Linked DNA regions of Homo sapiens: region 2 is linked to region 1. Evidence: promoter capture Hi-C in 16 types of primary human blood cells and fetal thymus (Javierre and others, 2016). All regions are on one chromosome and are shown on one strand. Each heading gives the region's core, a stretch centred on a gene start or on the middle of the fragment in contact. The rest is flanking DNA. Distances are from core to core; before and after follow the strand shown. Region 1 holds the start of MFNG (MFNG O-fucosylpeptide 3-beta-N-acetylglucosaminyltransferase). Region 2 holds the start of IFT27 (intraflagellar transport 27).

The links. The method cuts DNA at HindIII sites, captures the fragments that hold promoters and counts their contacts. A CHiCAGO score of 5 or more calls a contact.
Region 2: a fragment that was not itself captured here is called in contact with the fragment with the promoter of MFNG in region 1 in 5 of 17 cell types (fetal thymus, naive CD4 T cells, non-activated CD4 T cells and 2 more); the score reaches 8.1 in fetal thymus.

Annotation. Positions count from the first base shown.
Region 1 is chr22:37,484,209-37,489,231 of GRCh38, forward strand. MFNG (MFNG O-fucosylpeptide 3-beta-N-acetylglucosaminyltransferase) reads right to left here and starts at 2,176. Exons shown (of 8, transcript NM_002405.4): 1 at 1,715-2,176. The coding sequence starts at 1,969. RefSeq lists enhancers at 1,061-1,120, 1,521-1,570, 2,047-2,556, 2,557-3,068, 3,069-3,578 and 2 more and a silencer at 2,141-2,270. The HindIII fragment of the contact is 3,313 bases long and covers 1-2,557 here.
Region 2 is chr22:36,775,505-36,780,971 of GRCh38, forward strand. IFT27 (intraflagellar transport 27) reads right to left here and starts at 615. Exons shown (of 7, transcript NM_001177701.3): 1 at 170-615. The coding sequence starts at 203. RefSeq lists silencers at 177-236, 367-416 and enhancers at 315-878, 657-916, 1,444-2,007. The HindIII fragment of the contact is 727 bases long and covers 888-1,614 here.

The sequences.
Region 1 (5,023 bases), core at 926-3,425:
CGAGTCCCGGCCCCTGCCGCAAGGCCCACCTGCCACCCGACCGCCCTTAACCAGCCAGGCGGGCGCCCAGCGCTGCAGTTAACCAGCTCAGGCCCGGTCCAGACACTCCTGCCCCGTGCAGATGGGGAAACTGCGGGCCGAAAGGGGAGGGCCTTGGCTGAGGTCACAGAGAGAAGTGAGCCAAAGGGTGAGAGACGTGGGGTAGCGACTCCTGTAGCCCAGTGACCCAGTCCTCACAGGGTTCCCAAGTCTCAGCAGGGGAGAAAAGCACCCAACCAGGAGCAAGGTTCTAGGTCCCACTGGGCTCTGTCCCCTCAGGCCTTCTGCGTGACACCACGCCAGCCAGCACTTCCTCTCTCTGGCCTCAGTTTCCTCATCCGGGGCAAGGGCACCACCGCGGTGATGGAGATAAGACAGGAAAGGGCCGTGGGCCACGTGAGGCCACGCTCCCGGGTACACAGACGCATAAACAGGAAGGCCTGCGGGAGGGCCCGCCTTGGCTGCTTCCGCAGGAAGAACCAGGATCTCCCCAAGATGAGAAGCCGTGTGGGGCCCAGAGAAGAGCTGAGGTGCTGGGGGCCAGCTGGGGAAGAGTTAATCCCAAGTACGAGGGCAGAAATCAGGGCAGGGTGCCCCTCCCCAGGAGGGCCTGGCCTCTGCCAGCCATCCTCTCCCCCTCCTTTTGGTCTTCCAGGAGGTCTCGACTATCTCCAAAGACTCAGTCACTTCCTCCCACTGAGCCAGCCGCCAAAGAGGGGACCGATGTGTGTGTGTGTGTGTGTGTGTGTGTACCCATTCTCCACCTCCCCCATCAACGGTCCCTAACACCGACATCACTAACTTTGCTTAAGGAAGATACTGGATGCGAGGAGGGAAAGGGCTGGAAGGGACTTGGCTCGCCGGAGCCGCACAGCCATGTGACAGACATGCCTCTTGTCACACACATCTAGCACACTCCAGCTCCGTGCGTGTGAGCACACACACACACACACACACAATCCCACGTGCCAGGCAGGCCTCCCCAACCTCCGGCCCACCACTGCCTCAGCCGCCACCCTCGTGGCATGCGCTCTCCTTCCCTCCCTCGGAAGCAGTCCGCAGGAAGCCAACACAGGAGGCCAGACATGGCGGCCTCGGCACACCCGGGGCAGCAGAGACACAGCGGCAGGGGCTATCGGGAAGGCCGAAGGGATGCCTCCCCCAAGAACAGACCCCACCATTCTCCTCCCGTCCTCCACCCTCAGAGCCCGGGCAGGACAGCACCTAGGGCCTGGGTGGGACAGCCTGGCCTGGGCACGGGTCTGGGTCAGGACCTCTTGGAGGCCTCCACCCCAGCTGCCCAACACCCACCATTACCCCTGATGCCAGGCTGGGCCTGGGTGGCTAGGAGCGAAGCCCCCACGGGAGCGGCTAGGAATAGAAGAACCCCCAGGAGGGACCCGGGAGCCTGGAGCAGGGGCCCAGCCTGGCCCCCAAAAGTGGTGGAGCGGTAGGACCTGGGTGCACCTGGAGTCAGGACCAGTACAGGGCACGGGCAGGGCCGCAGGCAGCCCCTAAAGCCCGGAAGAAGGAGAGAGGAAGAGGATCCCTGATTAGGCAGGTATTGAGCAGCTTCTCCCATGAGGCAGTCAGGGACCCCAGCCCAGTAGAAAGGCCTCTGAGAACCCCTTAGGCCAGGGGCCACCCCCAGGGCCCAATGTCACCCACTTGTCACCTGTTCCCTGGTCCTGGAAACCCACGTGTCAAGCAGCAGCTCCAGGCGCAAGCGGTGGAAAGCCCGGGTCGTCTTCACTGCAATGAAGACATCGTGTAGCTGTAGCTTAGGGGGCCCCGGGTTCGGCTGGCTCAGCTCGGGGGTCCCTTGTACCCGCTGCGGGGACAGGTTCAAGTGGTACCGCAGACACAGGAGCCCCATGCACAGGAGGGTGAGGAGGGCTCCAGCCAGGCCCCGCGGGAGCCGGCACTGCATTGGTTGGCCCTGGGACCCCAGACAGCTCAGCCCCCAAATCCCAACCAGACAGGGAGGGGAAGCTGGTCAGGCAGGGGCTCCAGCAGAGGCAAAAGTCTGGCAGGCATCAGGGGCTGGCAAGGAGGGAAGAGGTAGGAGCTGAGGCTCTGGACCCAGAGGCTGAGCCATGGCAGCACGATCTCGACCGCCGCCAGTCCTCCACCTGCTCCCGCTGTCCGGCCTGCCGCAGCCTCCGGGACCGCCTGGCCCCGCCCCGCTTAGCCCGAGGGGCGGGGCCAGACGAAGGGAACCCCAGACAGAGGCGGCTGAAAGGAGGCACCAGCAGAAAGGGCAGCCCCGGCTCTGCCAGCTGCTGCGGTGGGAGGAAGTCACAACAAACCCTCCGTGCCCGGTGGAAGGGAGTGTCCTCCAGCACCGTCCACTCCCCCAGAGAGCTGTCAGCTCGGCCCATTCAACACCCATTACTTTGGTGTCCTGCTTCACCCAGCCCCCAGCTTTTGCTCACAGGTTTCCTCCGGGATGCTCTCCCATATTCCACCAGCCTCACCCACATTCCCTCCACTAGGCTGAGTTCTATCTGGACTTCAAAGCTTAAGGGTTCCCTCCTCCAGGAAGCCTTCCGTGATAACCTCTTAACCTCTGGGGCTCCCACAGTTGTTCGCTCAGTTCCTGAGGTCTTCACAACAGCACTGGGACTGTCGTTCCCAGTTTATAGCTGAAGACATAAGGCACAAAGGCACAGAATGAGCAAAAACGATCCAGCAACTCAGCCGCAGAGCTGGCAGAACCCAGGTCTCTGTTCCTCATCTAGTTCACAGGAGGTCCCCTGAGGGCACCTGTCCAGCTGTGCCCCAGCCCATACCCGACCTCACTCCGCAGTCTCTGGAGCTGCCTCTCTCCCAGCACCTGACCAGTGGACAGACAGAGGGCCTTCTCCAGCCACCACCTCCATCTTGTTTCGCACAAGCTCACTCACACCTCCTCCCTCCTCCACTCAGAGCCTGCACTGGCTCCCATTTTCTTCAGAACAAAAGCCAAAACGCACACAGCAGCCCACAAGGCCCTGCGTGAGCTGGCTCCCAAGTTACTCCCACCCCATCTCCTGCTACTCACCCTGCTCCACTCCAGAACCTGGGACCCTCGCTGGCCCAGGCACCTGGCCGCCACAGGACCTTGGCACTTGCTGTTCCCACCTGGGCCCCTCCCTAGAGACCTGCACGTCTCACTCCCCCACTCCCTTCTGGTCTTTACACAAAGGTCACCGTCTCTGTGAGGCCTTCCCTGACCACGTTATTAACATTGCAACCCCTCGCCGCCTCCTTCCCAGCCCCCCAGGCCTGTCCCTCTCAAGCCACTTCACTGTTTTCTTCATCACACTTTTCATCTTCCAACATTCTGTATGTTTAACTAAGTTTCTGTCCTCCTCATGAGAATATCAGGGCAGGATTTATTTTTTGATCACTGAGTCCCTAATCCCCAGTGCCTAGAACAGTGACCGGCAGACAAGAACTCAATCAATGTTAATTCAACACAACAAAGTACCAGGTGGCTGGCAAAGGGAAGTGGCCCTGCCGGGCTCAACCCTGCATGAGGACAGCTGGGGGAGAGGAAGGGAAAACCAACCCTTTGAATGACCTTCTCATGGGCCAGCCCCCAGCCAGGCCCCTTCACAGGCCATATTCTCAGAATGGTGATGATGCCAGCCTTGGTGATGATCCCAGACTCTGTACCCCACAGACCAGGTTTAAATCCTGACTGGGGGCTGGGCGCCATGGCTCACGCCTGTACTCCCAGCACTTTGGGAGGCCAAGGCAGGCAGATCACTTGAGGTCAGGAGTTCAAGACCAGCCTGGCCAACATGGTGAAACCCCGTCTCTACCAAAAATACAAAAATTAGCTAGGCATTGTGGCAGGCACCTGTAATCCCAGCTACTAGGGAGGCTGAGGCAGGAGAATCACTTGAACCCGGGAGGCAGAGGTTGCAGTGAGCCGAGATGGCGCCATTGCACTCCAGCCTAGGCAACAAGAGTGAAACTCCATCTCAAAAAAAAAAATTCCCAACTGGGCCACTCACTGGCTGTATGACTCTAGGAAAGTTACCTTCATCATTTCTAAAATGGGGACAAAAATATGACTTGGTGACGATTACAGGATGAGTGGGCTTCTCCACCCCACAGAAAGGATGCTTGACACGGGGAACAGGCAAAGGCAGCCAAGTCACAGGCCCCTGCCTTTCCCCAGGCCAAGCACTGGGCCAGGCTCACTGTGGGGCAGGGGGAGGTTCATGTACCCAAATGCACACAGCCCAGTTTCCATGCCCAGGAAGCCACAGACATCGAGAGACAGCCACACAGACACCCTCGTCCCACCACAAGGCAGAATATGGCATGGGCCAGGAGAAGTCCCAAGGGCTGGGAGGACCTGGTGGTGGGTTTCATGGAGATACGTAATATCTCAGCCAGGCTTCAAAGATCAGGAAGATTCAGGCAGGGAGAGCAGCCCAGGCAGGGGCCACATGAGCAGAGGAGCACAGCTAAGGGTAAACTGAAAGGCCACTGCCACTGCCCGCGGTGGGGAGGATGTGGCTGGGGGGATGGGAGAGTCAACACCTGGGAAGGCCTGGAGTAGAAAGCGGCATTGCCGCTGATTCCCATGCAGGGAGGCTGCCCTTCCCCCAGGGCACCGCCTTTGCCACTCAGGGTCCAGCTCCCCAGCCCCTACCCCAGTGGTGACAGACTGGCAGGCCTCCAAGTCCAATCTGCACCTTGTCAAAGACACCCTGTCGTAGAGAGTGGGAAGACCTTTTCCCAAGCAATGGCTCAGCCCCAGCCACACGTGCTCACCTAGCCGTGGCCAATCCGTACCTCCATGCTCACTCCACCATCCGGGCCTCCACTCCACAGGGGAGGGCCCTGGGCCCAGAGAGGCCACCCGAGTTGCCAGGGTCTCCTGGCTGACCAGAGCTTTGGGTTTCAACCAAACTACAGTGCCCTGCGCACCCTGCACTCCATCCTGGGAAAGCCTCTCTGGGTTCCCGGGACAGCCTGGGCCCAC
Region 2 (5,467 bases), core at 1-2,500, 710 kb before region 1:
TCATTCTTCCACGCCTAACGTAATTTACTGTATCAGTAATTGCAGTAACTCGCCTTTGGGAGAGAGAAAGGAAAAGGTAGGCAATTTAGGTGAACAAAAGCTCTGGATGAATTATGAAGGCTCTGGACTCCAGAGACCACCGTATTCAAGCGCAAGTTTTCAGACTCACCTGCCAGGATGCATTTGGCTGCCAGCTTCACCATGGTAACCAACACTCCCGCGAGCCGTACCCAGAGGACAAGAGCGGCTGCTAGAGACGCGAGTGGGTGGGCTTCGGGCCCTGGGCTGGCCTGGGACGGGAAGGTGGGGAGGGGAGGGCTGATCTCAAGGGTCAGTGGCCGCGACGGGACTGGGGATGACCGAGCCCGGCCCTTCTGGGCCGGGGGCGGATATCGGGCGCTGGGGGCGGGTGGGCAGGGGAGGGCTCCAGGTGGGCCCGGCTCGAGGCCTGACACGGCAGTCTGAAAAGGTGCAAGCGAGCGGACACGGCCTGTGCTCCCCGCCCAGCCCCTCAGCACAGCCCTACCCAGAGGGTTCAAGGAAGGACGATCCGGCTCTCCTCCGATCACAAGTACCGGGCCGGATGCACTCTCCAAGCAACCATAGCCCACCTGCCCCGCCTCCTCCTCCTCCTCGCTGACCCTCGATTGGTTGCCGCCAAAAGCTCCCACCCTCAAGGTCTCACAAAAATCCAATGGGAGTAGAGAGCTGGGATAACAGCCTTTTCTTGAGATGCAATTCGTAGAGTTATCAGTTCTTCAAGTTCAGTCTGCTTGACGAGTGGTTGTAATTGACGTCAACCAGCTTTATATCCCGCCCCCGCTGCGCCTGAGAGTCCCGAGATAAAGAAGCCTCCACGTCAAGCAGTCAGAAGCGGTGACAAGAGAAGCTTTCTGATTGGTCAGAGTCTGGCTTGACCCATCTTCGGGAGGAATAGGGATTCGCCACTCCCGCTGTCCTTCTAGAAGTGGGTTCGCCTACAATGGGGCAGGTTGGGCTCTAGGCGGTCTGGAGCGGCGCCTGCGCAGTGGGCCAGGCCGCCGCTGTAGAGGTCGTTTTGACTTGCTCTGACTTCGCGCGGTTCTCGCGGCTTCCCCGGTTCCCGGGTTCTGCACAGCGCGGCTATTAAAGTGCATGGAGAAGTGCAGTCCTTGCCCCGCATCCCGCAGGGAAATCTCATTTTAAAAGCTCAAAGATGTAATGAGCGTTAAAATCTAAAATATGAAGGTGTTTTATTAAAGTGATGTTTGTGAACAAAGGGAGAACAAATACACTTTGATGGGGCTAAGCGGTGAGACTCGGAAACTTGAAGTCGTACTTTGCTCTTAGTCCATTTACTCTCTGCAAAAGGAGAATGCATCACTAACCTCGTTTGCCCGTCACCCAGGGAGGCTCTCTGTACGCGTTTACTGGGTTGGGGGTGCCTCTTGCACGTGGTTAGGGGGTCAGAGACCTAAATCCCTGGCCTGGACAAGTCACCTCATCCCTCAGCCTCAGGATGGGCCTAGGAGAACCCGCCTTGTGGGGTGGTTGTGGAGATGGAAGGAGAGAAACGTATGAGTGCCTGGGAGATAGTAGGTGCACACGTGATTGTGGGGTGGATGGGAGAGCGGAAGCTTATCTGGACAGATTTGGTTTATCATCACTGTCACTGGTTGGCCGAATGTACCCCTTGTTCTCACTTTCTCAGGGCCCCTGGGATTCTGATGGCTGATGCTGAAGGGAAGAGCAGCCCCTCAGCAAAGGTGCCTGTGCGAAAGTTCCACATTCCCTCCAGACACCTAGAACATTCCACCTCTCCGCCACTCTGCATCTCAGAGTGGCTGCCAGCCTTGTGTGGGGGAATAAACACACACACTCTATGAATGGCTGATGGTTTCAGCCCCGAATCCAGAGTAAATGCAAGTTGTCTGAGATGTTCTTTCCTTGGGATTCATTCCTGGCGCTACGGTAAAGGTCTGTTTCTCCTTCATTTCTCGTAACTGCTTTTCTTCTTTGGTGACATCACGTGAGTCTGTCTCAGACATCCAGGTCTGAGTGAGCAAAAAGCCTCTTTCTGGTCTTCTGCCTTCCTCTTGCCGGCTCCCCTCCAGGCCAACCTGTTCACCATGAGTGACCCTGTTAATCCCTTAAAGGACCCCATTTGGTGAGTCACCCTCCCGAGGCAGCTCCACGTAGCTAAGACACAGACACACATCAGGGCAGCCTCCGAAGCCTTGGTTCCTTCATTTTGCGAGGTGGGTAATGACAGAGCCGGAGCATAGCCATCTTGGACAAGCACTGCCATTTTAAAGTTCTCCTTGATCAAAAACGGCCTAAATTCAACCCAAAGGGCATCAGCCTAATGGCTAATGTCAGAATGACCATAAACCACAAGTGACATCTCCAATCAGAAACATTCCAACCCTAAGATAAACCCACCCCCCGACCAGAGACATGCAGCCCCAAGATAACCTCCCCTCTGGTCAGAGAGATGTCAGCCCCAACATAACCCACCCTCAGACCGGAGACATTCCAACCCCACAGTAAACTTCTCCTCCACACAGAAACATTCCAAGCCTGTGGTAAGCTCTCTTGCCCTAAACCCTTAAATACTCTTAGTCTGTAAGAGAGAGCACTCCTGACTGAAATTGGCCAGAAGCCCCTCTCAGGTTTATGCTCCAAAATAAACCTGTATTTAACTGTTGAGCCACTTTTCATGTTTCTTGCCTCTTTCTTTAACTCTTGCAGGTAATAATCACACCTCCCTCCCAGGGCTGTTCTCTGTTCCCCACCCACTGTCTCCCTTTTGTTGCTGCTACTCTGTGTGATTTTAGTCAGCATTATCATAAGAGCATTGTAGAACTTTCTAGAGAGATGGTAAACACTTGTATGGTGAATTCTGTCCCCCTTCACCTCATGGACCCAAGGGCCTTCTATACATTTCTGTGACTGAAGGTAAGCTGAATGAGAGTCACTAGGTTTAAGGTGGTCAGAGAATTTTGGAGCCATGGGGGCTCCTGAGCAATTCGAGTTATCCCATTTCTGAGCAGCTCTAATAGTCACAGCTGGCCTATGTTGACCACAGACTTAAGGCTGGCCTTGTTCTAAGTGATTTTAGGGATTAATTAGTTTAATTTCACATTTACATTTGATATTCACAATAACCATGTATCATCCCCATTTGATAGATGGGGAAACTAGGGCCCAAATGAGATTAAGTGAAACACCGAAGGTCACCTAGCTAGTGAGTAGCAGAGATGGATTTGAACTCCTTCTCACCCTTCCTAAAGAGCAAATACTTATTGAGTTCCTTGCCGTAATAACTTGCGTTGATTGAGCATTAGATGTGAGGCATCTGCTAAGCACTTCACATCCTCTCTCCTGTATGAAACCATGACCCTGGGAAGTGGAAACTCTCATTCATTTGAAGAAAGGAAAGAGCCACAGAGAGGCCAAGGTCATGCAACAAGTCAGCCAGATCCAGAACCAGCCTCAGATCTCTTGACTCTGGGGACCAATGTTTGTTTCTTTGTTTTCCCCCATTATCCAGCATAGTCTCTCCATTTTCATTAATTAGCTTTTCTTGAGTGCCTACCATCAGCCAGGCATGGTGTTGGTTGCTGGATCCACTGAAGGGTGGGGATGACAGAGCCCCAGGCTTTACCTCTGGGTGAGATATCACGGCAATGTGGGAATACGGGCCCAGGGTTGCACACTTTTCTAGAGGAGCCAGGAATCTGGATTTTTGTGTGAAATCCCCTGACCTGTTAGTGTTGGCAATGAACTTAAATTTAAAACACTGTAGCTGCAGTAGAAACCTCTGTTGACCGGTTCAACCTGGGGGCTGCTCATCTACGATCTTTGGTAAAGAAAGGAAGACCAACATGTGGACAAGTCACTGTGCCACAGGTGGATATGGGACTCCCTATGTACACCTCGAGGAGCATTCCTAACCCTGGGTGGATGGAGAGGGAGTCGGGAAGGATATTCTGAAAGGAGAGCCTTGTAGGAATTTGCGAGGTGGACACAGGGGAAGGCAAATGCTGGGTGGATGGGTCAGCACATGCAAAGGCTCAGAGCTCTGGGAGGGCAGCAGATGGAACACACGGTGGAATGGCAAGACCCAGAGTAGAACCCTTGTTTGAGGAATTAATTCAACAAATATTCTGTTGAGTGCTTGCTAAGCACTAGGACGTAGAGGTGGACAGAACCATCTAGCCCAGTGGAGCGGCAGATGATCAAGCAGTAATGATCTATGATTGCATGTAGTCAATGTTGAATAGGGGAGGATGTGGTGCAGAAAGAACAAATACCCTATGCTCTGATCCCTGGACTGGCACACCAGCATCACCTGGGGATTAGTAAGAAATGCATTTTCCCAGGCCCCACCCCTGACCAGCTGAACACTGGAGGTGGAGCCCACAATCTGCTTCCATAAGGCCTCCTGGTGACTCCGACACAAGCTCATGTTGAGAACTGCTTTTCTTAGCTAATGCCAGGACCCACCTTTATCTACTCTATTGGGTCATTTTACTGTTTTTCAAGCTCCTCGGGAACGTTCCCACCGCAGGGCCTTTGTACGCACTGTTCCCAATGAGGCTGTATGACTCTCCTTCATGATCTTCAGATCTCAGCTCAAACGTCATGCCTTCGGGGAGCCCTCCCAAACACACAATTTAAGCATCGCCCCCAATCTGTCAGTCTCAATATCCTTGACTTACTTTACTTTCTTCATAGCGTTCACTACTACCAGAGATTACACAGTCTGTCCCTCTGTATCCGTGGGGGATTGGTAACCATGGATATCAAAATCCAGGGCTACTCAAGTCCCCTATATAAAATGTTGTAATATTTGCACAAAACCTACACACGTCCTCCTGTATACTTTAAGTCACCTCTAGATTACTTTCAATAACTAATACAATGGAAATGCTATAGAAATATTGGTATACTGTATTTTATCTGTATTATTTTTATTGTTGTATTGTTATTTTTTTATTTTTGCAATGTGCAGTTAGTTGAATCCAGAGATGTGGAACCCGTGGATGCAGAGGGCCACCTATATTCCATATTTATTAGTTTATTTATATGGTATCTGTCGCCCTCCACTAGAAGGTAAGCTTCATGAGAACTGACACTTGGTCTCTTTTGTTCACCCAGTATCTAGGACAGTCCCCTGCATGGTGAGGCACCCCGTAAATACTTCTGAATGAATGAATGACTCTCATAGGGTTTACCCTTCCGGTTGTGTATTCATTCATTCAACAAGCACCAACTCTTGAATATCAGTTTTTGGGCAAGCAATGGGCTTACTACTGAGAGATGTGCAATGACCATTCAGATGGGGTAACCTCATCCTGGGTCCTCTCCCACCCCTAGCCTGCACCCCTAGCTACACCCATATGCTCTGTGGAAGAGGAAGTATTAACAGTGCTGCTTCCCAAAGCCAGGGACTAGACTGTTGGGGCTGATTACTGGGGCTTTG